2 separate regions of the Homo sapiens genome follow, and region 1 is linked to region 2. The links are contacts of gene promoters, found by promoter capture Hi-C in human tissues and cell types (Jung and others, 2019). All regions are on one chromosome and are shown on one strand. Each heading gives the region's core, a stretch centred on a gene start or on the middle of the fragment in contact. The rest is flanking DNA. Distances are from core to core; before and after follow the strand shown. Region 1 overlaps PTDSS1 (phosphatidylserine synthase 1). Region 2 holds the start of MATN2 (matrilin 2).

Region 1 (7,017 bases), core at 4,511-7,010, 1.5 Mb before region 2:
CCCTACAGTTCTGTGGTGTTGGGGATGACCCTGCTGCCACTGCTCCTCTCTGGTGGCTCCAACCCCACATTTCTCCTTGGCATTGCCCTAGTATTGGCTCTCTGCAGTGGCACTGCCCCTGTGGCAGGTTTTTGCCTAGACTTCTAGGCAGTTCGCCGCATCCTTTGAAATCTAGGTGGAGGAAGCCATGGCCTCCACAGCTCTTGCGTTTTGCATACCTGCAGAATTAACACCACATGGACACCACCATGGGTTATAGCTTATCCCTCCCAGAGTGGTAGCCCAAGCCACACCAAGGCCCACTTGAGCCACAGCTAAGGCAGCCAAGGAGCACTCTGCTAGAATGTGGGAGTAGAGTCCCTAGGTAGCCCTGGTCAGTGAGCCCGTGGAGGGCTCCCCAGGCCTGTAACCGAAAACCATTCTGCCCTCTTAGAGCTCTGGGTCTGTGATGGGAGGGGCAGCCTTGAAGATCTCTGAAACGCTTTTGCTTTCAGGGATCTTCCTCACATTTTCTTGATGAATAGCACCTGGTTTCTTTCTTTCCATGGTAATCTCTTTAACAGCCACGTGGCCCCACCCTTAGTGTTTGGAATATGCTTTTTCACTGTTTACATGGCCAGGCTTTGAATTTTCCAGATTATTCCATTCTGCTTCCCTTTTAATTTTAAATTGTCTTTAAGTCATTTCCTTCCTCTGGAATCTCATTGTATGCAGTCAGAAGTAGCCACACAGTAGCCCGAATGCTTTGCTGCTTGGCTGTCTTCCACCAGATATCCTAGTTCATTGCCCTCAGGCTGCACACTCTAGAAAGCCTTCAGGCATGGACACAATTCAGCCAAGGTCTTTGCTACTGTGTGACAAGGATGCCCTTTACTCCACTTTCCAATCCTTGCTCCTCATTTCCATTTGAGACCTCATCAGAGTGGCCTTGACTGTTCATATTGCTACCAGCATTCTGGTCGGGAACGCTTAAGTAATCTCTAAGAAGACTGAGGCTTTCCCTCTTTTCTTCTGAGCCCTCACCAGGATCACCCGTAATGCTCCCTTTACAGCAATACAGGCTTTTTCTAGCCTGCTCCTCCAAATTCTTTCAGCCTCTACCCATTAGCCAGTTCAAAAGCTGCTTCCATATTTTCAAGTATTTGTTATAGTAACCACCCCACTTTTTGGTACCGATTTTCTGTCTTAGTCCATTTTCTGTTGCTATAACAGAATACTGCAGACTGGGTAATTTCAAAAGAAAATAAGTTTATTCTGCTCACAGTTTTGGAGGTTGGGAAGTCCAAAAGTATGGCAATGGCATCCAGTGAGGTCATCCCATGGTGGAAGGGCAGAAGGCAGAAACAAGTGCACCAGACAGAGAGGGAAGTGCCAAACTCATCCTTTTTATCAGGAACCCACTCCCAAGATAACAGCCTGAATCCATTCATGAGGGCTTTGCCCTCATGACCTATCACCTCTTAAAGGCCCCACCTCCTAATACTGTTAAGTTGGCAGTTAAGTTTCGAGGAGAGTTTTGGCAAGGACATTCAAACCATAGCAGTCACTCAGACTGTAGGGACCCCTCTAATTTCTCTTTAAGTTTTAGAGAGACTTTCTGTTACTTATTTGACACTTAGAATATATCTCCTTTTGTGGGTTAGCCTTTGTATCTATGTGATTGTAACTTATTGAGGACATGCACCATTTCTTATGCTCCCATTGACCTCTGCTTCACTTGGTACAGACCTCTTAGTCCGGGCTTCATTCACAGACAGTTGCTGAGTGCTCTTCCGTGCTGTGCCTGGGGCTCTAGCCACACAGATAGATGACGGTGATAAGATTTACTGGTGCCTACTATGTGCCAGAGACCATTCTAAGCACTGTCATGAATTCCACATTTGATCTTCACACTTTGAGGGAAGGTATTTTATTATCCCTCTTTTACAGATGAGGAAACAAAGGCACAAAGAAGTTCACTAACTTGCCCAAGGTCACATAGGTAGTTAAGTGGCAGAACCAGGACTCAAACCCAGACATTCTCTCTAGGGAACTGCTCTTCATCACTGCCCTCCAAGGATCTCTGAGTTCAGATGGCAATTAGACATGCAAACTAATTATGTTAATATGTGATAAATACTGTAAAAGATTGTGTGCATAAGGCTAAAGGATACTTAGAGCAACAGACATGCTGGGGGTTGGTGAAGGCTCCTTAGTGATATGTGAGCAGGATTTTTAAGGGTTGCAGTGAACCGCTGGCTTTCCCCCAGCCCCCCAGGCCCCAGCTAAAAACCTGGAGGCTGCTTCCTGTCCTCCATCACTCTTCGAATCAGCCAGTCACTAAGATCTGTTAATTTGACAATGCAGCTCAACTCCATCTCCTCTCCATTCCCACTGCCTCTGCGGCTGTCAGGACACCCATTTTCTTGCCATTCTGCCCTCCAAATCCATTCTCCATGCTGCTGTCAAAATGATCTTCCAAAATTCAGAACTCAATCTCTTTCCCCTGCTAAGAATCATTCTCTCTGGCTGGGGGCTTGAGAGGGCACAATAACACAATCTTTTTCCCCACCTGAGTTAAAAAATAAGTAAGAGATAAGCAAGATAGAGGAAAGTTATGGGGATCAGAGTAGCATCTTCATTAGTGAGAATTCACCTTTTTCAGGAAATGCCGGCTTCCTTAGTCACCATTCAAGGTGTGACTTCTCCCCAGGGAAGGAGTGAGGGGTGGAGGGAAGCAGTGAAGCTTCCTCCACACAAGAAGAAACTTCAAGAAGGAAGAAGGCTCCCCACCACGAAACCTCCCAGATGAATTATGAAATCTGCTTGTGTGTTCAGGACCTTCATAGTGGGAGCATTCCATCACATCTGCCCACGTGTACTCTATTCTCAGGCTGCACTTGTCTGCTGGTAGTTACCTAAACAAGTCATCCTTCCAGACTTCTTTTGCCCTTCCCACGCTGTTTTCTCTGCCTGATCTGAAAGACTTTCCCTGCCTTATCTACATGATGAAACTGATACCCCAAAACCAACTTAAACATATGACCCCCATGAAATATGCTCTGACCTCCAAGGCAAGTAGATAGCTCCCTCCTTGGGACCAGTAGTGCTTTGTACGTAACTCTCAGTTCTAACCCCAGTGCAGTGGAATTTGTTTTTTTTCTATCTGTCTCCTCCACACTGCACTCCTTGCTCAGAGAGAATAAGTTGAAGTCATCTTTTGGCCCCACTGTCTCAAGCACCGTGCCTGGTGCATAGGAAGCACTCGGCAGCTTCGTGGAGAATAAAGGAGTGAGTTCAAGAGACAAAAACTTGCGACATGCAGGTGGCTGGGGGGCAAACATACAAAGACAGGAAGCTGTGAGAGTGCCCAGTGGCTCAGGAAGGTGGTGACCTGTTTGAGGAGTGACAGTGAAGAGTTGGATGAAGAGTAGGACAGGGTCCCCTGCTTAGGAAGGGCTTTGTGCGGCTGTAGTTGCAGCCCCAGCAATTTTCAAGCGGGGAAACAATGTGGTCTGATCTGTGTCTCATGGGGAAACACCATGGAGGCTGGGAGAGTCTAGAGGGAAGATGGGTTGGGGGGAAGAAGTACAGTCAGAGGTGCTGCCAGGCCTAGTTGACAAGTAACTGAAGCTGAACCAAGGCAGAGGCATTGAAGATGCAGAGGAAGGGCTGGATCTGAGAGTTGTTTAAGGAATGTGCTCAACAGGATGCCATTCCTCTTGTGGTAGCTGGGAGGGGACTTGAGTGCCACTCCAAAGGTTCTAACTGGTGCCACTGGGTGGCCACCAGTGCTAGCGACAGATTGGAGGATATAGGAGAAGCCCATTGAAAGGAGGAGGTGAATTTGGTTCAGGGGATTTGGGTTTGAGGAACCTTTAGAATTTACAGGTGGAAGTGTCCTGTTTTATGGGAAATTCTAATCTGTCAATAACACTGGAAGGATTTGGTCGTTGGTGGAAATAAAATACTTGGGAGGAGCCCATGTGGAGGGTGCAGTTGGAGTCCTGGGATTAGGTTAAGAGCTCAGGGAACATGCCTCTGGGAGAGGAGCTGACTGAGGCTGGGATACCTTAATAAGAGGTCAGGCCGGGGACGATGAGCAGGATTTTGAAGACAGGCAGAATCTCTGATTAGACTTACAGGATGAGACATGAGAGAGGGACGTCGCCCGAAAAGAGGCCCTGAGACAGGATGATTAGGGGTCTCCACTGCCTCCCTTTAAAGAAGAACAGAAACAAGGTCCTGGCACTTTTTAAAATATTCCTGACCTTTATTATAAAGAGCAAGATTGATCGCAGACTCAGGAGTAGAGGCGAACATTATTCAATAAGAGAGCTTCAAGTTACACCATGCCTTCTGCCCCACTCAGAAAAGCAAAGCCCCTAATTACTCCCCTGGCCTGGTAAGAGAGCGCACACGGAGCTTGAGATTAATGCAGAAGCAAAGATCCCGGGTGCTGGTTAATAAGCTTTTCCAGGAGCGTGGTTGTCTGCTCGGCCGTCATTAATTTGAATGCTCATTACCATAATGTAGAAGCCAAGCTGGGGTCCTGCGCCCTCCTTGCCGCCAGCCCCGTGGTCCTGGACAGCCTGGCTCTCATCCCACGTAGTTTCTTCTCGCCCCCCCGCCCTTTCTTTAAACGAAGTGTGCAATTGCTATTTTAAATCTGAGCCTTGACATTTTCAGTGGGTACGTGCCTAGATTTCCACAGGTGTGATTGCAAACCTGTAAATTACCGGCTTCCGTTTGCTGGGACAAGTGTAAAATGGGCCTCTTTGTACGCAGGTGAAGTAGATTTGGCAATCACAACAGACCCTTTGTGTGACGATTGTGATGATAAGCACCTGTCGTTCTCCACTTGCCTGCTGTTTGCCGCTGGAGGGAGCGGCAGCTGCCACTGCCTGTCATATTGGGCCTGGGGCTGGGGAAGGGAAGAGCCCCGCGTGCCTGCCCTCTGGTGGTCAGAGTTTGCAATGACAGTCTAGTTGAGGGACCCGCCTCCCCACAGCCCTCTCGTTTGGGGAGGTGGAACCTAACCCCCCCAGTCCGCTGTGTGAAACCCAGAATGTTCTGTTTTGCTCTTTGTAAGGGGCCTAACGCATACACAGGCTTACACTCTGCAAATCATTTCTAGTCCTTCCCACTCTTTCCATGCCATGAAAATGGCACACTTAACGTTGGTATATCTAAGAAATCTGGGCAAGCATTAGAGTATGTTAAAGGTTGGAAGTCATTTTCACTTTGTAGTTTTAATGTATTCATTCGTGGCCTAATTTTTTGATGGATATGAGCTTTTTAATAAATCCCTAACCTGTAGGTATATGCCAGTTTGCACGTGGGTTTAGTAGGAAATGAACCAGTGGCGCTGCTTGTGCTTCTCACTCTCTCTCCACGCTGCCACTGTTCCTGCTTCCACGTAACTGGCACGGAAGAGGACAGCTAGCCAGAGTGTTGCTCTCCTTTCTTTTTTGGAACTAAGAAGGCACTGTGTATCCAGCAGCTGCCAGGAAATGTCGCTGATAAAGGAACTGGGCCAAAGCTCGACTGCAAGCTGCCATGATGAGAATTCACAGCCCCTGCCTTCCCGCCCTACCACCAGACTGTGGCTGTGCAGAGGAGAAGCTGCTGCTGTTCACTGTTCCCATGATGCTTTTCGTTCTCAGGGATGGATACATGGATGGAGAAATAAAGCTATATAGACATAAAGCCAATATTTGTATCAGTAGCCATCCCTTAAACCCAGATCCGGGGGTTTCAAGAGATCTGAGTTCCGGCTCCAATGTTCACCTCTCTGAGCTTTCATTCTTCTTCTGGAAAATGAGGGGCAATGAAATTAATGGTCTCTGAGGTGACCTTTTGGATCTAAAGTTATGATTCTTAGAACTAAAATTATTTCCTTGAGAAGGTCCCTCCATGCTCTCACAGCTGTCCCCACAGTTGGTGCAAGATGAGAGGGGTCCAGGAAAATGACAGGTGCCCAGGTGTCCACAGGAAATGCAGGGGGAGAGATGGAGGCTCAACAGCCAGGATGGCTTGATGTGAATGGGTTTCTAGAGTGAGGAATTTGGAAGGAGCTGGCAGTTGCCTTGTTTTGTTCTGGTTGCTTTGCTTGCAGTGGGGAAGGTGTGGCCGGGGAGATTCATGGCCCTGCTCTACCGCTCACCCTCCCTCCCTCCTGCCTTTGGTATGCAGTCCAGGCAGCTGGAGACTTTTCCTAAGCTTTGATTTTTTGACATGTTTTGAAACTTTGGATTCTTGTCTGTGCTTTTCTTTCCTTAAATTAGGGTATAATTTAGGGTGTGGGGGCAGGCCCAGTGAGTGGGGCAAGTGTGGAGTAGAGGTTGTCCCTGCCTCTGGGCACCCACAGGCCACACCCTCCTCATTCCACTCAGGGCCTTAAGAGCATCTTTATTTTCTCTTTGTTTTCCTATCCATATAACCAAGAAAAACAAAGCAATAAAAACTGGGGTCCACTCAAAAGCCTGGAAAAGCAAGGGCAGCCCTGTCCAGCTAAGCTCCCCACCCTCTACCCTGGGAGTGTTTGTCCGTGGGCCCTCAGGTGCCGCTGTGACCTCTTCCCCCTAGAAGCTGACACACTGAGTCCTCTTAGCGCTCTCCTGTGATGGGGAAGCCGGGAGAGAATGGACCCTGAAAATCAGAACTAGAACATAGAATCCTCTCTATCTTCTTCAACAGAACCCGCAAAGCTATCAAGAAAATGCATCCCACCATATTGCACATCTGAAAATTGTCTTTCTTGCTTTCTGATAGTAGAGTCACAGGTAGTAACTGTGGTCTCATCATAACCTTTGTTGTCAGAAGCTTTGGGTGTGCACCCTCCCCTTGAGGTCTGATCTCTGCCACGTCCAGCCGTTTTGTAACCGGCGTCCAGACGGCAGAAATGCATTGAACGGTCCTGCATTGATTCCCACTGAAACCCTGAAGTTCTGGGAAATTGAACTTTTTTGTGCAGCATCATTTGTTTTTCTCTTCCAGGCTTTCACCACTTTCCTCTGTCTGTACGGCATGATTTGG
Region 2 (6,620 bases), core at 1,032-3,531:
GCTGGTCTAGAACTCCTGACCTCAAGTGATCAGTTCGCCTCAGCCTCCCAAAGTGCTGGGATTACAGGTGTGAGCCATCGCCCAGTCCCAGAACTAAAAATCTTAAACCCACACTTCTGAATAAGGTTCTCTGTACATCTAGCACATGGCAGGACCTCTAGCAGAAAAGGCAATTTTGGCCTTTTCCTAATCTATAGTCTTAATTATCAACTTGCAATTCATCCTGAAGGTAACCCAGAAATCATTTCATTGTTTGTTCTGCCTTTATATTTCAGGACATTGAACTTGCTTTTCCTTCATTTTTTTCTGGCAGACCTGAAGATCATCCCACAAGGTAGAACAACTCATTTAACCTATTTGACTTGGCCCCAAGTGTAATTTGTACATAGATTAACTATTCTGAAGAATTCCAATAGAACTCCCTGGGGGGAAAACACCCATTTTAATTGGCATACACCAGAGTCACTGGAATCAGTTACTAAATTACAATTTCCTTACAATTTGGAAGGGTTTGGGGATTGTTATTGTTTTCCTGGTAAATTACTGGATCACACTGGTGTCTTGGAATAAGTCAACACATTTTAAATTTAAGTTTCCATAAACTGTAGCTCAACTTCCCAAGTTCCTAGGGGATTTTCACTGGCCCAGACTCAGGAAGAATTTTCTTCTATGGGATCCAAGACTTCAGAGACCAAACATTTCCTGAAGACTTTCCTCTGCTTTCTGACCTCCACCTACCTCCTCCCAAAGACATAACAAAAAAACTATTTGTGATCAGTGCAGGCAGCCAAGAGTGCCCAGTGGGCCTAAGGTACTGGGTAAAGGAACAGGAATCCACAATTCTTTCTTGGTATTAAGGTATCATTGACTTGCCTGATGGCTCGAGTATGTTAACCCCTTGCTTCATGGCTGGAATTTTAATTACCCCTCCTGGAGCTTTTCTGAAGAATTGATTTTGGCGTTTATTCATATTTCAGAAATCAACTCTATCATCAAATAGGAATGATGGTTAATTACAAAACAAAGTCCGCCCAAAGCACCAAATTATCAGACTGTGGCACATCCAGAGGTTTTGAAACTAGTTAGTGCTGCTGCCTCTGCTGGTAGCTTGTTAAAACCTGAACTGGGGCCGGGCGCAGTGGCTCACGCCTGTAATCCCAGCACTTTGGGAGGCCGAGGCGGGCGGATCACGAGGTCAGGAGATCGACACCATCCTGGCTAACACGGTGAAACCCCGTCTCTACTGAAAATACAAAAAAAATTAGCCGGCCGTGGTGGCGGGAGCCTGTAGTCCCAGCTACTCTGAGGCAGGAGAATGGCGTGAATCCGGGAGGCAGAGCTTGCAGTAAGCCAAGATTGCGCCACTGCACTCCAGCCTGGGCGACTCCGTCTCAAAAAACAAACAAACAAACAAAAACACAAAACCTGAACTGGGTGCGTTGGCTAGTGGTTTGGGAACAGAATTTTGGAGCTTTATAGGAGATGTCCTGGTCTGTTATACATCCACTCACCCCAGCCTCCAGGAACTGGGGAGCTGGTAGAGGGGGGTGCCGGCCACTTTGACTGTCGCTGGCCAATCCTGTCTTCTGCATCCCTCCAAGGCTCCATGGGGACATCCAAGGTGAGGTTCCTCCATTCTGCAAAGTTGCAAATGTCTCTGCTCATAATTTCAAAAGTCTTGTCTGAACTAGACTTTCCCTGCTCCCTCGGGGTAGGAATTTTGTCTCCTCTCCATCCTGGCATCTTTACCTCCTCCCCATCCCGGGGCCTGGTCCCCAGCCAGTGGACGCTCTGTTAATATGAACTGGCACTGGTGGGGTGCTCTGGGCACTGGCAAGACAGCTCTTGGCGCTTGTCATCAATTAGCCCAATTCTCACCACTTTTTTCTCCATCCCCGCGTCAGTGGGTGCGTCCCGCAGGTCATGACCCCAAGTTCTAGATGTAAGATTCCTGCCATGTCTCCTTTCCCCCAGAAGACCCCTCCCCGCACTCCCAACCCGACAGGCCCCTAAAGCTGCCTGTGTTCCGTGCCTGCGGCTCCGGACCCCTGGAGTCTGATGCCCGCCTGGGCTCAGGCACGGACGGAGTGGAGCCAGGTGGCAGCAGGCAGGGCGCGCCGCCAGAGTGCCCAGCTCCCGGGGCTGCCCACAGGGTGGGGCCGCCCTCGCCGCCGCTCCCTCTCCGCGCCTTCCCCATCCCCAAAGAGGACACCCCTCCTTCCGCCCGGCCCGCTCCCCACCCCCGCCGCGGCACCGCCTCCCCAGCCGCCCGCCCTTGCCCAGCGCCTCCCAGGCAGCCAGCGAGCGAAGGGAGCGCTCTGGGATGGGACTTGGAGCAAGCGGCGGCGGCGGAGACAGAGGCAGAGGCAGAAGCTGGGGCTCCGTCCTCGCCTCCCACGAGCGATCCCCGAGGAGAGCCGCGGCCCTCGGCGAGGCGAAGAGGCCGACGAGGAAGACCCGGGTGGCTGCGCCCCTGCCTCGCTTCCCAGGCGCCGGCGGCTGCAGGTGAGCGCGGCGCGCTTTCCCCCGGCTCTGCGCGGCCGGGCGGCCTCGAAGTGCAGGCGGACCGACCCACCGACAGAATACCGAGCCTGGGCTGCCCGACGCGCAGGCGCCCTCCCCAGGCCCGCACTGCAGCCCCCAGCGCCCCGGGGCCCCGGCGCCTTCGACCCCTCCGAGGACAGGGGGAGAGGGAGGGCGGCGCTGCCCGACCCCTCGGCCGGGAGAGCTGGGCGCGCTCCCTGCGCAGGACAAGCCGCGCTGCAGCCGCCCCGGAGTGCCCCGTGGGGGCGCTGTGGCACGCAGCGGGGACGCCCAGACCCCGGCCACCGCGACCCAGGGAAAGGGAGACCTGTTGAGCGGGTATGCAGGGTGATTCCTATTCCACGGACAGCCGATGGCTCCCCCTTCCCTCTTCGGAACCTGGTATTTTCATGCCCGTGTCATCTGGATTTTGTTCTTGGGTCTCTATGGCAGCTAAACCTCCAGCTTCCCTATATTGTGGAAGAGGGAGAGAAAGGGGAAGGCATTTTGTGGTAGTTGCTAGAAACCCCAGAACAATTTGGAGCCGTTTGGGGAGAGGACAGAGAAATGGGGACTGTCCCTGGTAGGGTCTCCAGGACTGGGGGCACAGGAAAGTGCTCTCCTCAGGGACACTCGCGCCCACCCTGAACAAACCCAATTGACCAAGTTTCAATTTGTCATAAATCAGGAAGCCACAATGCATCTGCACCAAGCACACTTAAAATCGGCCTTTAAGGAATGGGGCAGTCAAGAGACTTCAGGGACCCGTGGTCGAGAGCAGAGACTGGGGTCAGCCTGCTTGGGTTTCAACCCCAGCTGTGAAGTTTACAGGGTTGATAACTTGAAGGTACCCAAGTATGCCTCAGTTTCCTCATCTGTCTAATGAGGATGGTAATACCCACAGAACTGTGAGGATTAAATGAGATATGGCGGCCGGGCACGGTGGCTCAGGGCTGTCATCCCAGCACTTTGGGAAGCCGGGGCGGGCGGATCACCTGAGGTCGGGAGTTCGAGACCAGCCTGACCAACATGGAGAAACCCCGTCTCTACTAAAAATACAAAATTAGCCGGACTTGGTGGCGCATGCCTGTAATCCCAGCTACTCGGGAGGTTGAGGCAGGAGAATCGGTTGAACCCAGGAGGCAGAGATTGCAGTGAGCGGAGATGGTGCCATTGCACTCCAGCCTGGGCAACAAGAGCTAAACTCCGTCTCAAAAGAAAAAAAAAAAGATATGGCAAGTAAAGTCCTTAGAACATTTCCAGGAGCATTCTAAGATTAGGTGAGTTCCATGGCTTGTCTTTGCAGAAATAGCAAGGAGCTGCTATGAGCAGTGAATGTACCTCTTCCCCAGTTCAGAAAGAGAGGCTCTCCATGGGTACGTGAGGGTGGCAGATAAGCCACGTGTATGCAACTGGTAGTTCCATGCAGGAGTCCACACGGGCGCAGTTCTCCCTGCTTGCTCCCAAAGGGCCAACCTCATAAAACCATGTCAAAATACCAACATGGGTTTATGACCTGGAATGTTTCCTCTCAGTCCCTGAAACTTGGCACTTAGAATCCTCTGTGGAGAATGAGATACTTATGGCTCTTCACCTTGCATTTTCCTATCTGTCCACACTTTTTACTTTTATTTCTGCCAATAGAATTCAATCTCAGGCCCCCGAGTTACCAGGACACTGTCTTCTATAAATCGGGGCTCTGGGGTTTCTTGTTCCCAGGCAACCCAGGGCCACCAAGGCCTAAGCTTGCTTGTTGGAGGTGTCAGAGCAGAGTCCAAATCTGAAACACCCTCGAGCAGCTGTCATGCCCTAAGCTCTTATCAGCGAGTGCCATATGTCCTTGTTTAGCAAAAGGTAGTTAAAAGTGTGGCCTGAGATTTAAAGAAAAGGAGAGATGTTTGCTCTTTGAAATAAGAGAGCCATTGGAGGTTCTGGAAAAATAATTCTACAGTTTATTTAGAAACAGTTCTGACTGGCACCTAAGAGAGGGCAAGGAGTGAGGTGGGGAGACTAAAAGGGGGAGAGACCGGCTTAGGCCTCAGGAAAAGCAGGCCGAAGAGGGTGTGACAGGTCTAACGCTGGCCTGAGCAAGGTGTTGGGTATGAGGCTGGGCAAGCAGTAGGAGAGGTGAGTGGTTTAAGACCAGTCAAGTTGGCAGAGAGCCTCTAGTGCTGCCCCTGGCACTCACTGCCCTCTGATCTGTAGCACCTGCAGGAGCGTCCCTTCCAGGGATTCCCCGTCTTCTAGGGAAGCTATGGAGGACTCCCCTGTTTAAAGCATATGGCAAGATAACTCAGGAGGGCCAGGGAAAGAGGGAGGCTGAGCATATGCCAAGGGGAGAATGGGGAATGTCATTGCTGTTGCTAGTGAATGGTGCCAGGGAGGTCCTTCCAAGGGGCCACTTGCCACTTGGAGCTTCAGCCCATGAGGCCATCCTTGAACCCTGCCATGTGGCTCGGCAGACAGCCAATACTGCCTGAAGGGGGCTCAGATGGAATGGCAGGGCTGGGCTGTTGCCAGTAATTGGTGTTAATGACTATGACAGTGGCTTTGACATGGATGAGATGGAGTTGGGGTACAACCCAAAGCACACTGCTCTTGGCACCCGAAAGACCTGGGTTGCAGTTCTAGCCCCTCATACCTGCAAAGATTTTGGAAAGTTACTTAGACTCTCTGTGCCTGACATCTGTTTCTTCATCTGTAAATGAAGACTGGATTTTTTGGGAGAATTAAATTAGTTAACAGGTGTTCAGTGCCTAGCTCAGAATAAATGCTCAATATTTGTTAGCTATACTTACTATTATTGTCTGAGCCTTGGTTTATATCATCTGTCAAATGGGCGTGATACTATGTCATAGGGTTGTTGTAAGGGTTAAATGAAATAATTAATGTGAATTTATCCAACAGTGTGTGAAGGGTGTAAAGTACTCAAAGTGAGTCAATTGAAATGGAAAATTTCACAAAATACCTGCATGTAAAAATCAGCGGCTGAGCAGGTGGATCAGCTAACATTTTTGGAAAGTTATTCTAAAAGTACTGTCAGAGGAACCTTTATCTACTTATGGAAAGTGGGGCTCACTGCCCATGGGGATACCCTGTAGTTATTTTATGTTGTTGTATTAGTTGCCTATTGCTGCTATAACAAATTTCACAAACATAGTGGCTTAAAACAACCCTAAGATGTTATCTTGCAGTTCTGAAGTTCAGAACTCTTAAATGGGTTTTGTAGAGCTAAAATCAAGGTGTCAGCAGGGCTCTGTGGTTCCTTTTGTAGGCTCTTGGGAAAATGTCTTTCATTTTCTGACTTCTAAAACCTGACTGCATTTCTTGGCTCTTGGTTCCTTCTTCCATCCTCAAAGCCAGTAACAGCATCTTCCAACCCTTCTCCCCATCCTGACTCTCGTGTCTCCCTCTTACAAAACCATACCTAGAAAATCTGGGCTAATCACTGCATCTCATAATTCCTAAGTTAATCACATCTCCAAAGTCCCCCCGTTTTTTTTTTTCAAGACAGAGTCTCGTTCTATCGCCCACGCTAGAGTGCAGTGGCGTGATCTTGGCTCACTGCAGCCTCCGCCTCCCAGGTTCAAGTGTTCTCCTGCTTCAGCCTCCCAAATAGATGGGATTACAGCCATGAGCTACCACACCTGGCTAATTTTTTATATTTTTAGTAGAGATGGGGTTTCACCGTGTTGGCCACGCTGGTTTCGAACTCCTAACCTTAGGTGATCTGCCCACTTTGTCCTCCCAAAGTCCTGGGATCACATGCGTGAGCCAACCGCACCCGGCCCAAAGTCCCTTTTGCCATGTAAGGCAACACAGTCTGGGGATTAGGCCATAGACATCTTTGACATATTATTCTATCTGCCAGAAATATTAGAGTATTAGATTGGGCATGATGGTAAGAAAAACTATTTAGAAAAAAGAAAGAAATATTAGAGTATTAGAGAAAATGATCTAAATCAAAGAGTTTTAGCTCACTTCTGTTTAGGGCTTCTCCCTGTACCCTCCCAGTTAGGTGAGTTTGTTTTCACATCTCTTTTTTTCTTTTTTTTTTTTTTCCCAGACAGTTTCTCTGTGTTGCCCAGGCTAGAGTG

What was found. The method cuts DNA at HindIII sites, captures the fragments that hold promoters and counts their contacts. A contact is called where the count stands out against the background at its distance.
Region 1: a contact is called between a fragment that was not itself captured here and the fragment with the promoter of MATN2 in region 2, in 1 of the 25 tissues and cell types used here (dorsolateral prefrontal cortex).

Annotation. Positions count from the first base shown.
Region 1 is chr8:96,323,235-96,330,251 of GRCh38, forward strand. PTDSS1 (phosphatidylserine synthase 1) reads left to right here. Exons shown (of 13, transcript NM_014754.3): 11 at 6,979-7,017. Among named protein-coding and RNA genes, the nearest start is that of PTDSS1, 65 kb to the left of the region's middle. RefSeq lists enhancers at 4,047-4,582, 4,583-5,118. The HindIII fragment of the contact is 4,346 bases long and covers 3,588-7,017 here.
Region 2 is chr8:97,866,783-97,873,402 of GRCh38, forward strand. It overlaps MATN2 (matrilin 2), which reads left to right and starts at 2,282. Exons shown (of 19, transcript NM_002380.5): 1 at 2,282-2,505. RefSeq lists an enhancer at 1,383-1,882. The HindIII fragment of the contact is 19,586 bases long and covers 1-6,620 here.